Linked DNA regions of Homo sapiens: regions 1, 3 and 4 are each linked to region 2. The links are contacts of gene promoters, found by promoter capture Hi-C in blood cells and fetal thymus (Javierre and others, 2016). All regions are on one chromosome and are shown on one strand. The core of a region is centred on a gene start or on the middle of the fragment in contact, and the rest is flanking DNA. Distances in the headings are between cores, read along the strand shown.

The links. The method cuts DNA at HindIII sites, captures the fragments that hold promoters and counts their contacts. A CHiCAGO score of 5 or more calls a contact.
Region 1: a contact is called between a fragment that was not itself captured here and the fragment with the promoter of SLC18B1 in region 2, in 2 of 17 cell types (naive CD4 T cells and total CD4 T cells). The highest score is 6.6, in naive CD4 T cells.
Region 3: a fragment that was not itself captured here is called in contact with the fragment with the promoter of SLC18B1 in region 2 in 4 of 17 cell types (activated CD4 T cells, M0 macrophages, naive CD8 T cells and 1 more); the score reaches 7.5 in activated CD4 T cells.
Region 4: a fragment that was not itself captured here is called in contact with the fragment with the promoter of SLC18B1 in region 2 in 1 of 17 cell types (naive CD8 T cells); the score reaches 7.3 in naive CD8 T cells.

Annotation. Positions count from the first base shown.
Region 1 is chr6:133,937,569-133,940,268 of GRCh38, reverse strand. No RefSeq gene overlaps it. Among named protein-coding and RNA genes, the nearest start is that of TBPL1, 14 kb to the left of the region's middle. The HindIII fragment of the contact is 2,003 bases long and covers 392-2,394 here.
Region 2 is chr6:132,797,326-132,800,025 of GRCh38, reverse strand. It overlaps SLC18B1 (solute carrier family 18 member B1), which reads left to right and starts at 1,389. Exons shown (of 14, transcript NM_052831.3): 1 at 1,389-1,612. The coding sequence starts at 1,570. RefSeq lists a silencer at 1,322-1,371 and an enhancer at 2,603-2,700. The HindIII fragment of the contact is 1,643 bases long and covers 1,154-2,700 here.
Region 3 is chr6:133,982,004-133,984,703 of GRCh38, reverse strand. It overlaps TBPL1 (TATA-box binding protein like 1), which reads right to left. Exons shown (of 7, transcript NM_004865.4): 3 at 2,054-2,136; 4 at 1,824-1,887; 5 at 225-328; 6 at 33-127. Among named protein-coding and RNA genes, the nearest start is that of TBPL1, 30 kb to the right of the region's middle. RefSeq lists an enhancer at 1,070-1,239. The HindIII fragment of the contact is 1,639 bases long and covers 485-2,123 here.
Region 4 is chr6:134,093,330-134,096,029 of GRCh38, reverse strand. The region is part of intron 2 of LOC124901404 (a long non-coding RNA gene); the gene reads right to left. Among named protein-coding and RNA genes, the nearest start is that of SLC2A12, 42 kb to the right of the region's middle. RefSeq lists a silencer at 2,579-2,648. The HindIII fragment of the contact is 6,249 bases long and covers 1-2,700 here.

The DNA.
Region 1 (2,700 bases), core at 144-2,643, 1.1 Mb before region 2:
ATTGACCAAACATTCTGAAGAAAACTATTAAAAATGCTGGGGAAAAAATCTAAAATCCTTTTTAAAAGCAAATACTGAACAGAGAATAAGATACTGTAAGACCAAAATTAGGAACGAAAAAGAACCAAGAGAGATAAATAAGCAGTAGAAGGTGTTTATGCTTTGTAGGGGTAATGACAACTTGAACTTTCGTTTTGATGTCCCCACTGAGTGAAAGGTATGGCAATTGCCCAGGGATTGCACAAAGCAGGAAGCTGAACAGGAAGGAGATCCTCCTGACAGTGAGGTAGGAAATGAAAGGGCTGTGTCCTTAGGGCAAGAATATACCTGAAATAAACAAATCCTCTTTTGGTTGTTTCCATCATGGTGACGGTCCCGGGAATTTCAAGCTTTGAACTTAGATTAAGGTAGTCTCAGACTGATGGTGTCCTTAGGTGCCTAGCAGAAACAAAGATATCTCTCTATAGGAAGGTGGATTCCTGTTAGGCTAGGATAGTTCCCACAAATACATTTTAAAGTACTATTACCAGAACATGTGTAGTCAAGTTTAAACAGACACATGAGGAAAGAAGACAACATAAGCAAGAACAAACAGAAATAACAAAGGCCATAGAACCACAAATACTTAATATTTGGATTTAGCAGGTTATAAAACAGGTAATAAAACTATAGTTATTATTTAATGAAATAAAAGATAAATTTGAAATATCTTCGGGAAAAATTACGTTGCAGATATTTAAAAAAGGACCAAAGAATAAAATAAATTTATATGGTTCAGAAATTCTCCACTGTTTTAGTCTTCTGGTGGCACTCCATACTGGTTTTTAGTGCTGCTACGAATTAATTTTTTTTTCTTTGAGACGGAGTCTCACTCTGTCACCAGGCTGGAGTGCAATAGCACAATCTTGGCTCACTGCAACCTCCACCTCCTGGGTTCAAGCGATTCTCCTGCCTCAGTCTCCCAAGTAACTGGGATTACAGGCATGCGCAACCACACCTGGCTAATTTTTTTTTTTTTTTTTGTATTTTTAGTAGAGATGAGGTTTCACCATGTTGGCTAGGCTGGTCTCAAACTCCTGACCTCAGGTGATCCACCCACCTCAGCCCCCCAAAGTGCTGGGACTCTAGGTGTAAGCCACCATGCCTGGCCTGAATTAATTTTTATGTTTATGTTTTTACATAATTTTTATTTTTACATTTCTTCAATTTAATTGCATTTTGAAAGGGCAAGGAGGTAAATATGCATTTTAGGCCACCTTGAAAGCCAGTTGATGACTTTAACGGCAGACTAAATACAGTTGAAAAGAGAATTGGTGAACTAGGAGCTAGGTCAGAAAAACAATAATTTAAAAGTGAAACAGAGAGACAAAAAGAAAACACAGAATAAGAATTAAAAGAAATAAACAACAGAGGAGAATAGATTAATATACATCTCATCAGAATCTAGGAAGGAGAGGAGAGAGAAATGGGGCAAAGGTAATATCTGAAGAGATAATGGCTGAGAATTTTACGGAAGTGATGAAAGACACTAATGTACATGAAAGACACTAATGTACAGGTTAAGACAACCCAGTGAGTCTCAAGCAAAATAAACAAGAAGAAACCTATATCTAAAATTGTCATAATGAAACAGCTGAAGAGCAAAGCTAAAAAAAATAGAAAAAGAAAAGAAAATAGTGAAAACAATCAGAGAAAAGTGATGAATTGCTTTCAAAGGAGTAAATATGAAACTGACATGACTGCTCAGCAGCAGCAAGAGACATCAGAAGACAATGGAGGGGGATCTTCCACTTACTGAGAGAAAATTACTATCTAGTCTTAATGTCTAGTGAAAAATATTTTAATAGTGAGGCTGAAATAAAGACATTTTCAGGCTAATGAAGACTAGTAGTTTTTCCTAAGCAGAATCATACTAAAGAAAGTTATAAAAAAAGTGCGTTAGGCAGATAAAAAAAATGTAAGCTATAAAAAGGTATAAAGAACAAAGAAAGTGGTGAATAAATAAGTTAATATACACTGAAAGAGTAAAAGAACAACAATATAGCATCTAAAAAATAGAAAAAAATGCAATTACAAGTATCACATATGTTGAAGAGGGTCAAATGGAATCAAATATCCTAAGCAGCTTGTATGAAGGGTAAAGGTTAAGTATGCATGTTGTAATTCTAGGATAATTACTAAAAGAATAGAAACAAATTACACAATCTCCCAGCAGTAAAGGGAAAAAATTGGATGATAAGAAACAATTTGTTGAAAGAAGCAAGAAAAAAGAGAAAAGTATATACTGAATAGGTAGAACAAATAGCACACCATAAGATGGTAAATTAAAACCCAAATATGTAGACAATTACATTAAATGTATATGAACTAAATACTCCAGTTAAAAGTCAAGCTTATCAAGCTTGACTGATTAAGAAAAACAAAACAGGACAGGCACAGTGGCTCAGGCCTGTAATCCTAGCACTTTGGGAGGCTGAGGTGGGTGGATCACTTGAGGTCAGGAGTTCAAGACCAGCTTGGCCAACATGGTGAAACCACATCTGTACTAGAAATACAAAAATTAGCAGAGCTTGATGGCGCATATCTGTAATCCCAGCTACCTGGGAGGCTGAGGCAGCAGAATCACTTGAACCTGGGAGGTGGACGTTGCAGTGAACCCAGGTTGCAGTGGAGCCACAGCACTCCAGCTTGGGTGACAGA
Region 2 (2,700 bases), core at 140-2,639:
ATGGTTCTTCCAATATGTTTGTATACAACCGATTGCATTATAGTAGATTATTAATTAGTGTGAATTTCATCTGCTAGAAGGTGTGCTACTTGAGGGCAGAGTCTGGATGGGGCTCATTCCTCTTTAAATTCATAATGCCTGGCACAAAGTGGTAACTCAGTCTTTTGTTTTGCTTTGGCTTCAAAACAAGAATTTCCCAGTCCTTAAACTTTATTTATTTATTTGAGACAGAGTTTCGCTTTTTCACCCAGGCTGGAATGAGGTGGCACAGTAATTACAAACTTACTATCAGCCATACTGTGTACTGGAACTGACCTTGTACAGTGGATCTGAGGCAGATTCTCAGTCGATAAAGCTACCCTCACACAATTCTTTTGGATCTTGGCTCACTGTAACCTCCGCCTCCCAGGTTCAAACGATTCTCCTGCCTCAGCCTCCCTAGTAGCTGGGATTACAGGTGCCTGCCACCACGCCTGGCTGATTTTTTTGTATTTTTATAGTAGAGACAGGGTTTCACCATGTTGGCCGGGCTGGTCTAGAACTCCTGACCTCAGGTGAGCTGCCCACCTCGGCCTCCCAAACTGCTGGGATTACAGGCATGAGCCACCGTGTCCAGCCAGTCCTCGAGCTTTAACACTTCCCAAATAGTAAATACGGTGAAAATAAGTGAAACCTATTTTTTATGCAAGAAAACTGTGAGTGTGAGAGTAAGGTAGCAGCCATCATGTTCATGTGCTAACTACTAACACACTTTATCGCCAATGCTCACAGCCGCCCTACGAGATAAACATTATAATCTCAGTTGTACAGGTAGAGAAACTGACCTTGTCATCCAAAGTTACACACTGCCAGCAAGTGCCCTGGCTTGAATCCCTGGCACCTGCCTCCAGAGGTCGCACTCCTAGCCACTTCGCCATGCTTCCTCGATATTCATTAGTATTCTTGCAAATATTTTTCGACTCCAGGTGCTTCACATAGGTTAATTCATTTCCGGTTCAATAGTGTCTGGCTTCAGTAATTACGAACACTACCGCATTTACCCACTGTGAAAAATAATTCACTCTTTCAAAGTTCCTGTATAACCTAATTTTCTAATTCACTTTTGTGTCTTTCAGTTGAGGTACTCCCTGCCTTTTCTGTGTCTACATAAGCTTCCTTTCTTTCGTTTCGTAGGAATAAATTGAACTTATTTTAAGATTGAGGGGGGTACAGCTGTATGGAATATAGACTCATCTTTTTTCACTCTCTGTCACAGAATGAAAAAGGACACCATGATATAGCAGCTGAGGTGGTGGATTAAGATAATGAGGCGGGGGGGGGGCGCAAAACAAAAAAAAAAGGAGCCTTGCTCCACCCCTGCCCCGCCCCCGGCCTCCTCCCGGGGACCCAGAGTCCTGGAAGGCTTTGGGGAGCTCCGGGCCGGGCGGATCGCTGCCTGCAGGGAGTCGGGGATGCCAGGTTCCAGCTGAGCAGCGGCCGCCCGCCAGAGTGCCAGTGGCTCCTTGGAGGTCGAGTCCAAGGACGTGGCTTGAAGCCGGGAGCTGGGGCGCCGGAGTCCACGCACCGGGGATGGAGGCGCTGGGTGACCTGGAGGGACCACGCGCACCAGGAGGTGACCATGAATTGCGTGGCCGGGAGCCCGGAGACCAGCGGCGGCTTCCGGCGTGTCTCTTTAGCAACGATTGAATTGCTTATAGCTTGATCTGTTTCCGAGAGATTGGAAAAGGCTGGGGCCTGATCGTGGGGTTCGGGCCAGCGTTTCTTTTCTCTCTGGACGGGGTAAAGTTCCAGGATTGGATATGTGTCACGGTTTCTAATGACTTTCTAACCTATACCTCTGCTTTTTAAGTACTGTGTGTTTAATGCATTCAAATAAGTATGCCATTAGGCAAATGTAAAACGTTACCTTTCAAGTACCCATTGTTGTTGCCTTTCTTTTTAACTTTCATTTCCCTTTCTCATCTACTACAAACATTTTACAAAGATTCGTAAGACTTCCTCATGTTGCACTGATTTTTTTTTTCCTTCTGGACTGCAATGGCAACCTCTGACAAATAGAGCAAAGCAAATGTATTTCTCTTAAGTTTTTCCTAAAAACAATTTAATTTATAAATGGCTGATGGATTTGCTTGGATATTTGGAACTCAGTAATTGATTTCGTGTTTTTAAATGACAATTTAGCCCTGGAAATAAGTGTTAAATTAACTGATGTAAAAGACCAGTAATTAGGGTAAAAAAAAAGTATTTATTTATGAATTTGTGGGACTTGTCTATCCAGAAGCATACCGCTGTAAATATTAATTCACCAGCTGAATGATTTAGCTTGTTTTCTCCTACTTACACTTCATTTGACTTCAATACTGCCTTAGAAATCTTTGTTTTTTGTTTTTGTTTTTGTTTTTGTTTGTTTGTTTTGTTTTGCTTTTTTGAGACGGAGTCTCTCTCTGTAGCCCAGGCTGGAGTGCAGTGGTGCGATCTTGGCTCACTGCAAGCTCCGCCTCCCGGGTTCACGCCATTCTCCTGCCTCAGCCTCCCGAGTAGCTGGGATACAGGGGCCCGCCACCACGCCCGGCTAATTTTTTGTATTTTTAGTAGAGACGGGGTTTCACCGTGTTAGCCAGGATGGTCTCGATCTCCTGACCTCGTGATCCGCCTGCCTCGGCCTCCCAAAGTTCTGGGATTACAGGCGTGAGCCACCGT
Region 3 (2,700 bases), core at 55-2,554, 1.2 Mb before region 2:
TTGATAAGTGTGGTTTCAATATCATAGAATACCTGTTACTGTGATACTTCCTGTTGAAAAAATCTGTAATGTAGCTCTTAGAGATTTTATCCGATAGCACACAGCAGGATGAAGTTCAGGTTCGTAACTACACAAAATAAGCCACAATTAATATAAATATTTATACCCTGACTAGTAATTTCAAATTTGGTAATTTCTCAAGATAAATTGCTTCAAAGACTTACCTGGCATGAGGTCTATTGTTCTTTGTGAATTCTGGCAAACGGATTTCAAATGGCATGTTACACACTGCCAGAACGTTAACAACCTTAAAATCTGTAAATATTACCTTTAGGAGAGAAGTAAAATTCAATAAATTTATTTTGAAACAAACAAACAAAAAATCTGCTCATAATGGCAATCCTTAAAAACAAGAGCAAACAAGATAAAACAAAAACATTTTAAGTGTATGTTTAGTACTGTAAGTTGTGTAGCATGGAAAGCTTTAATTCAGTTTTTTAAAAAGCTCAAAAACTCCATTAAAAAAATTAAAAACTGAGGTATTTGCATGATCAAAACAGTATGGGTCTTTCTAATCATATGTTTAATTTTTTAATACTTTAAGTGAAATATTTAAAACTACTGAGAAAGGAGAGAGAATAGTGAGGGAAAAAAAATTTAAGTCCAGGTCATCCTGCTAGAGTAAAAATGGAAAAGATGTCACTTTAAAGTCAGTAAATACAGAGTGTACACTGGGCTCCAAAAGTCAGATGTTTTTCTCATATGCAATAAGGCAAAATGACATTTCTGTGAGATTAGCTAGATGTTTATTTTCTTTCTGGGGATAGAGTGATAAATTTGTTTCTAACTAATTGGGATTTCTCTCAACACTTCTAATGTTACACTAAGAAAAGAAGTTCCAAGGCTGAAAATAATGCTGTTAACATTAATAACTTTGGCCACTCCAACCAACATCTTCGTTTCATCTCATTATCTTTTCAAACATTCCTCCTAAAACCACAATTTTGGGTGAGCGAACTATCCTTCAACTCAGCCTTGCACACAGCAGTTGCGCAAAGCCAGGAAACCGCAAAGTGGCAGCACTCTCAAATCACAGTACAACTCAAGCCTCTCTCTACTGCCACCCTTCTCAAGCACCAACCCCCACTCCCCACCAGCCGTTCAGTCTCTTCCTATCACCCTCTACTTCAGAGAGACTGAGTCATCAGAGGGAAAGGTAACTTCCTATCCCCACTTCTACAAACTTGTCTCAATCCCAAACAGCCTTGCCCTCATCTTCAGGGACCATTCTCATCTTTATCTTTCATTTATTCATCATTTGCAAGTGACCTAGCAAGTCCATAATATGTAATCGTTTTATTCAAAGGTATACCTCTATCAAGTTATAGTGATGAGGCTGACATGCCAGTGACAGTCACGTTACAAGTGTGAGAGCCTGCCAGCTGGTGTGTCCATGTCAACGGCCTCTGCCATTCTCTATTCACCATTCTGACCTGGCATTCTTGAGATGACCAAAAACCATTTTGTTTGTGTACGTCAGAGGTGAAAACACTTAAAAAAGAGTTGAAAAGGAAATTAACTTGTGAGGAAACAAGTCTCTTTATGGGAAAGGAATTAGGGAAAAAGCTAGGATCCTTTACAAATACCCACATAGCCAAATTTTGCTACTAATTTTCACACTGAAGGGCAGTATTAAAAAACCTAGAAAAAGTTTAATCATAAGAATAGTACGCATAGTGATTTCTTGAGTCTATTACAATTTTTAATTCTATAAAAATAAGTCCTTGAATATTTGTAGTTTAGATACTATTTGAAAACGTTACCTGAAAACCTAGTTTCTGCAGACTACGGGCTAAGCGTCTGGCACCAAATTTAGCTTCTTCTTCACTACGGTTTTAAGGAAAGAAAAAGATTATCAGTTACACAGGAAATAAATGTTATACTGAGGAACATAACAAACTTTACATATGATTTTGCTGTTAAGTCTAGGAAAATGTCCTTTCCATGAGGGAAAAAGTAAAAAATAAAAACAAAAAACCCAAGTAGCATTTACCTTGTTGCTCCAGTGCAAATAATTTTTCCTGAGGACCAAATTGTAGCTGTAATTCTAGGTTTTCTAAGCTTCATTAATACTTTCTGGGGGGAAAAAAAATCTGATTACCTCATAAGCATTATTTTTCACATAAGGTTCTGTTCTATATAGTCATATTAATGTCCAAATACTACTCTCCAAGCTTATCCAAGACTGCAATAACTGCTCTCCAAATCTACCATTCTGAAATCAAGTACAATACCAAACACAAAGAACATATTAATCCAAAAAGACATTTGATTAATTAAAAATACAAGGTGTATAGAAATCTCTCACTCTATATACTTGAAATCAATGTACTCCAAGTATATAAACAATTCAACTCTCATTCCACCCCAGTCATATAACTGGAACTTGCATGGTTCTTCACACACACCAAATCTGTTCATGCTTCAGAAGCTTTGCAGTAGCTGTTGCTTTCATTTGGAATATTATCCCCTCAATATTCTCACTTCATTCAGGTCTCTTACCAGATGTCACCTCCTGAAGAGAGGCCCTCCCTAATCATTTCCCTGAAACACCCATCCCTTCATTGCTTTCTAATTCCTAATTCTGCTTTCTGCTGCTTCATGGTACCCATCACTACTTTATATTGCATCCTAGAGTTG
Region 4 (2,700 bases), core at 140-2,639, 1.3 Mb before region 2:
GTTCCAAACACAAATAATAAGAACCAGTAGACAATTTTCCAAAGTGGATGGCAGAAAGTTTGGCTCTGTGTGACTTAATTTGTTCATTTACTCATTCATTCCTAATTTATTTTTTTCAATAAACGCATACCAAGCACTAAGATATTAGGGCTATAGGGTTGATGAAAACTGTCAAAGTCCTGCCTTGAAGGAACTTACATTCTAAGAGGCTTATAATAAAAGCTCATGTTTATTAACTGTAAGACATACTTACTGTTATAGTGACATTATACTGACTACTGTAAGCAATACTCTTATTTAATCTTCATAATAAATGCATGAGTTTGGGGCTGGGTGTGGTGGCTCACGCCTGTAATCCCAGCACTTTGGGAGGCCGAGGCCAGCAGATCACCTGAGGCCAGGAGTTAGAGACCAGCCTGCGCAACATGGCAAAACCCTGTCTCTACTAAAAAATACAAAAATTACCCGGGCATGGTGGCATGTGCCTGTAGTCCCAGCTACTCAGGAGGCTGAGACAGGAGAATTGCTTGAACCCAGGAGGCAGAGGTTGCAGTGAGCTGAGATTGTACCACTGCACTCCAGCCTGGGAGATAGAGCGAGACTCCATCTCAAAACAAAAAAAAAAAAAAAAAAGAAAAAAAAGCATATGAGTTTGGTTCTAATTTACATCAAATGAATAAATATCAAGTAACTTGATATCTTATAGCATGATAGTTTTACCTTGGAAATGGGTGTAAAATTTATTTTTTGGTTGCCAAAAAATGCCATTTGGATAATAAGGGATTGTCTATGGTTTAGATGAAACTGATTTGATCCATCAAAAAGATTTACTGAACAATTACTATGTGTCTAGTACTCTGCTATAAATTAGGTAAGAAATGGAAAATTATTCCCTTCCTATAAGCCACATATATTCTAGTTACATAGCTGTATTCATTTTTATTCCATTATTTAAGATGGCAACCCGTGAGGAGTCTCTGACCCATCCTCTTCCTACTTCTTATTAAAATTCTTGGGAAAAGAGTATCCAACAGAGCCAGTTACACAGGAGGGTTGACAAGTGGCAGGCATGGGAGCAATGGTGCATGGACTCAGGGTTTCAATCTGAGACCTCCTATTGAAAAAAAATAAATAAATAAAAAATAAAATTCTGAGGAAAAGAGAAATATATAAAAACTTGCAGCACTGAAAATCAAGACTGGTAATATTCTAGACCCTAAGAGAAATGTTTCTTAACTCTCAGGAATGGCCTGGGTTGAAATGCCCAGCCTGTGCTGTGACACAGGAAACTGAACAGCCTTAATACCTCCCAAACCGTCTACCCCTGCTCCAGAAATGCAAGGACTGGACTGGAAGGAAAAATGAAAACAAAAAAACTCAGGCATCTCTTCCTCCCTGCTGTGACTGCAACTCCCAGAAGACAATTGAACTAGTAGAGAATGCATTGAATCTTGGGCTATGTAATCTCCTAAGTAAAGTACTCTAAGCAGAAAGTGCCAGCTCTGTAAGGAATCACTTTTCATATTCTCTTTGTGTTCAGTGTCAGAGAAATAGTAGAAGAGGTAAAATACAATCCCATTGGTTCCACAGAACAAAGCTAGATGTAAGCAATTGGTTAGCTGCTAGAATTTGGGCTAGGAGCTGAGTATACTAACCTATTAAACAGTTATAGACCTAAAGAGAACATTTAACCCGCATCCAATTGTCAGACAGTAAAACCAAAAACATCATCCACGCTCTGGCAAATTCCAGGTCTGTTAGGTAACCCCTCATGGGACTATGAATAGGCAAAGAAATAAGAAAACATAGTGTATCCATTAGCAGACGATGCATAGCAAGGCATAGGTTTTTCCCCAAGGCCTATCTCATGATCTTAGGGACATACAACAATAAATATTTATTCTTATAAATGTTTGAGTCAGGTAGGGATTGGTTGATCTAGGCTGGCTTAGTTGAGTATATTTCTCCATAGAGGTGAATACTTTCTAACAGTAATCTGTGATACTACACATAAACAAAAAGCATGGGAGATTTTGAAAATGTATTACCGAACCAAAGAAGAGATTCCAGATATTGGAACCCCCCCGCCCCCACCAAAAGCAAGCAAACAAACAAAACCCTCTAAAAAAATATATAAAAATGATTATAGAATCCAGAAGAAAAATTGAGAGGTTAAAAAAATGCTTTGAAATTTTCGAGAGGATTCAAAATGATATTCCTATGTAAAATAAGACCAGCAAGTTATAAGACAAAAGACTGAACAGATTTCAAAAGTGCACTAAGACAATGAAAGTAGAAAGATTATGAAATATTTTAAATGAATTTCAAAATGCAGAAATCAAATTAAAAATCCACATTTGAAGCAATAAAGAGCAGACTTGAAATTGGATAAAAATCAGTTATGATGTATAAAAGCCTTTTCATAATGAAGAGAAGATATTAGAGAATAGACATCTGTGATATGAAGTTAAGAGTTCCCCAAGAAAAACTCAAGCAGTTGAAACAGCAAAAACTATACACATTATTGAGGAAAAAAGTTATCTGAGTTGTGTCAATGCCCTCTAGCCAAAGGCTACCGGGAGCACACTGGTAACTAAACAAGGGTGGTTTTATTGACTTTTCATAACAAAGGAGAAGTGAAATACCATACCATGCTGTGTATGGGGAACTGTGGGGCATGTCAGTAGAGGGTGTGAGAGG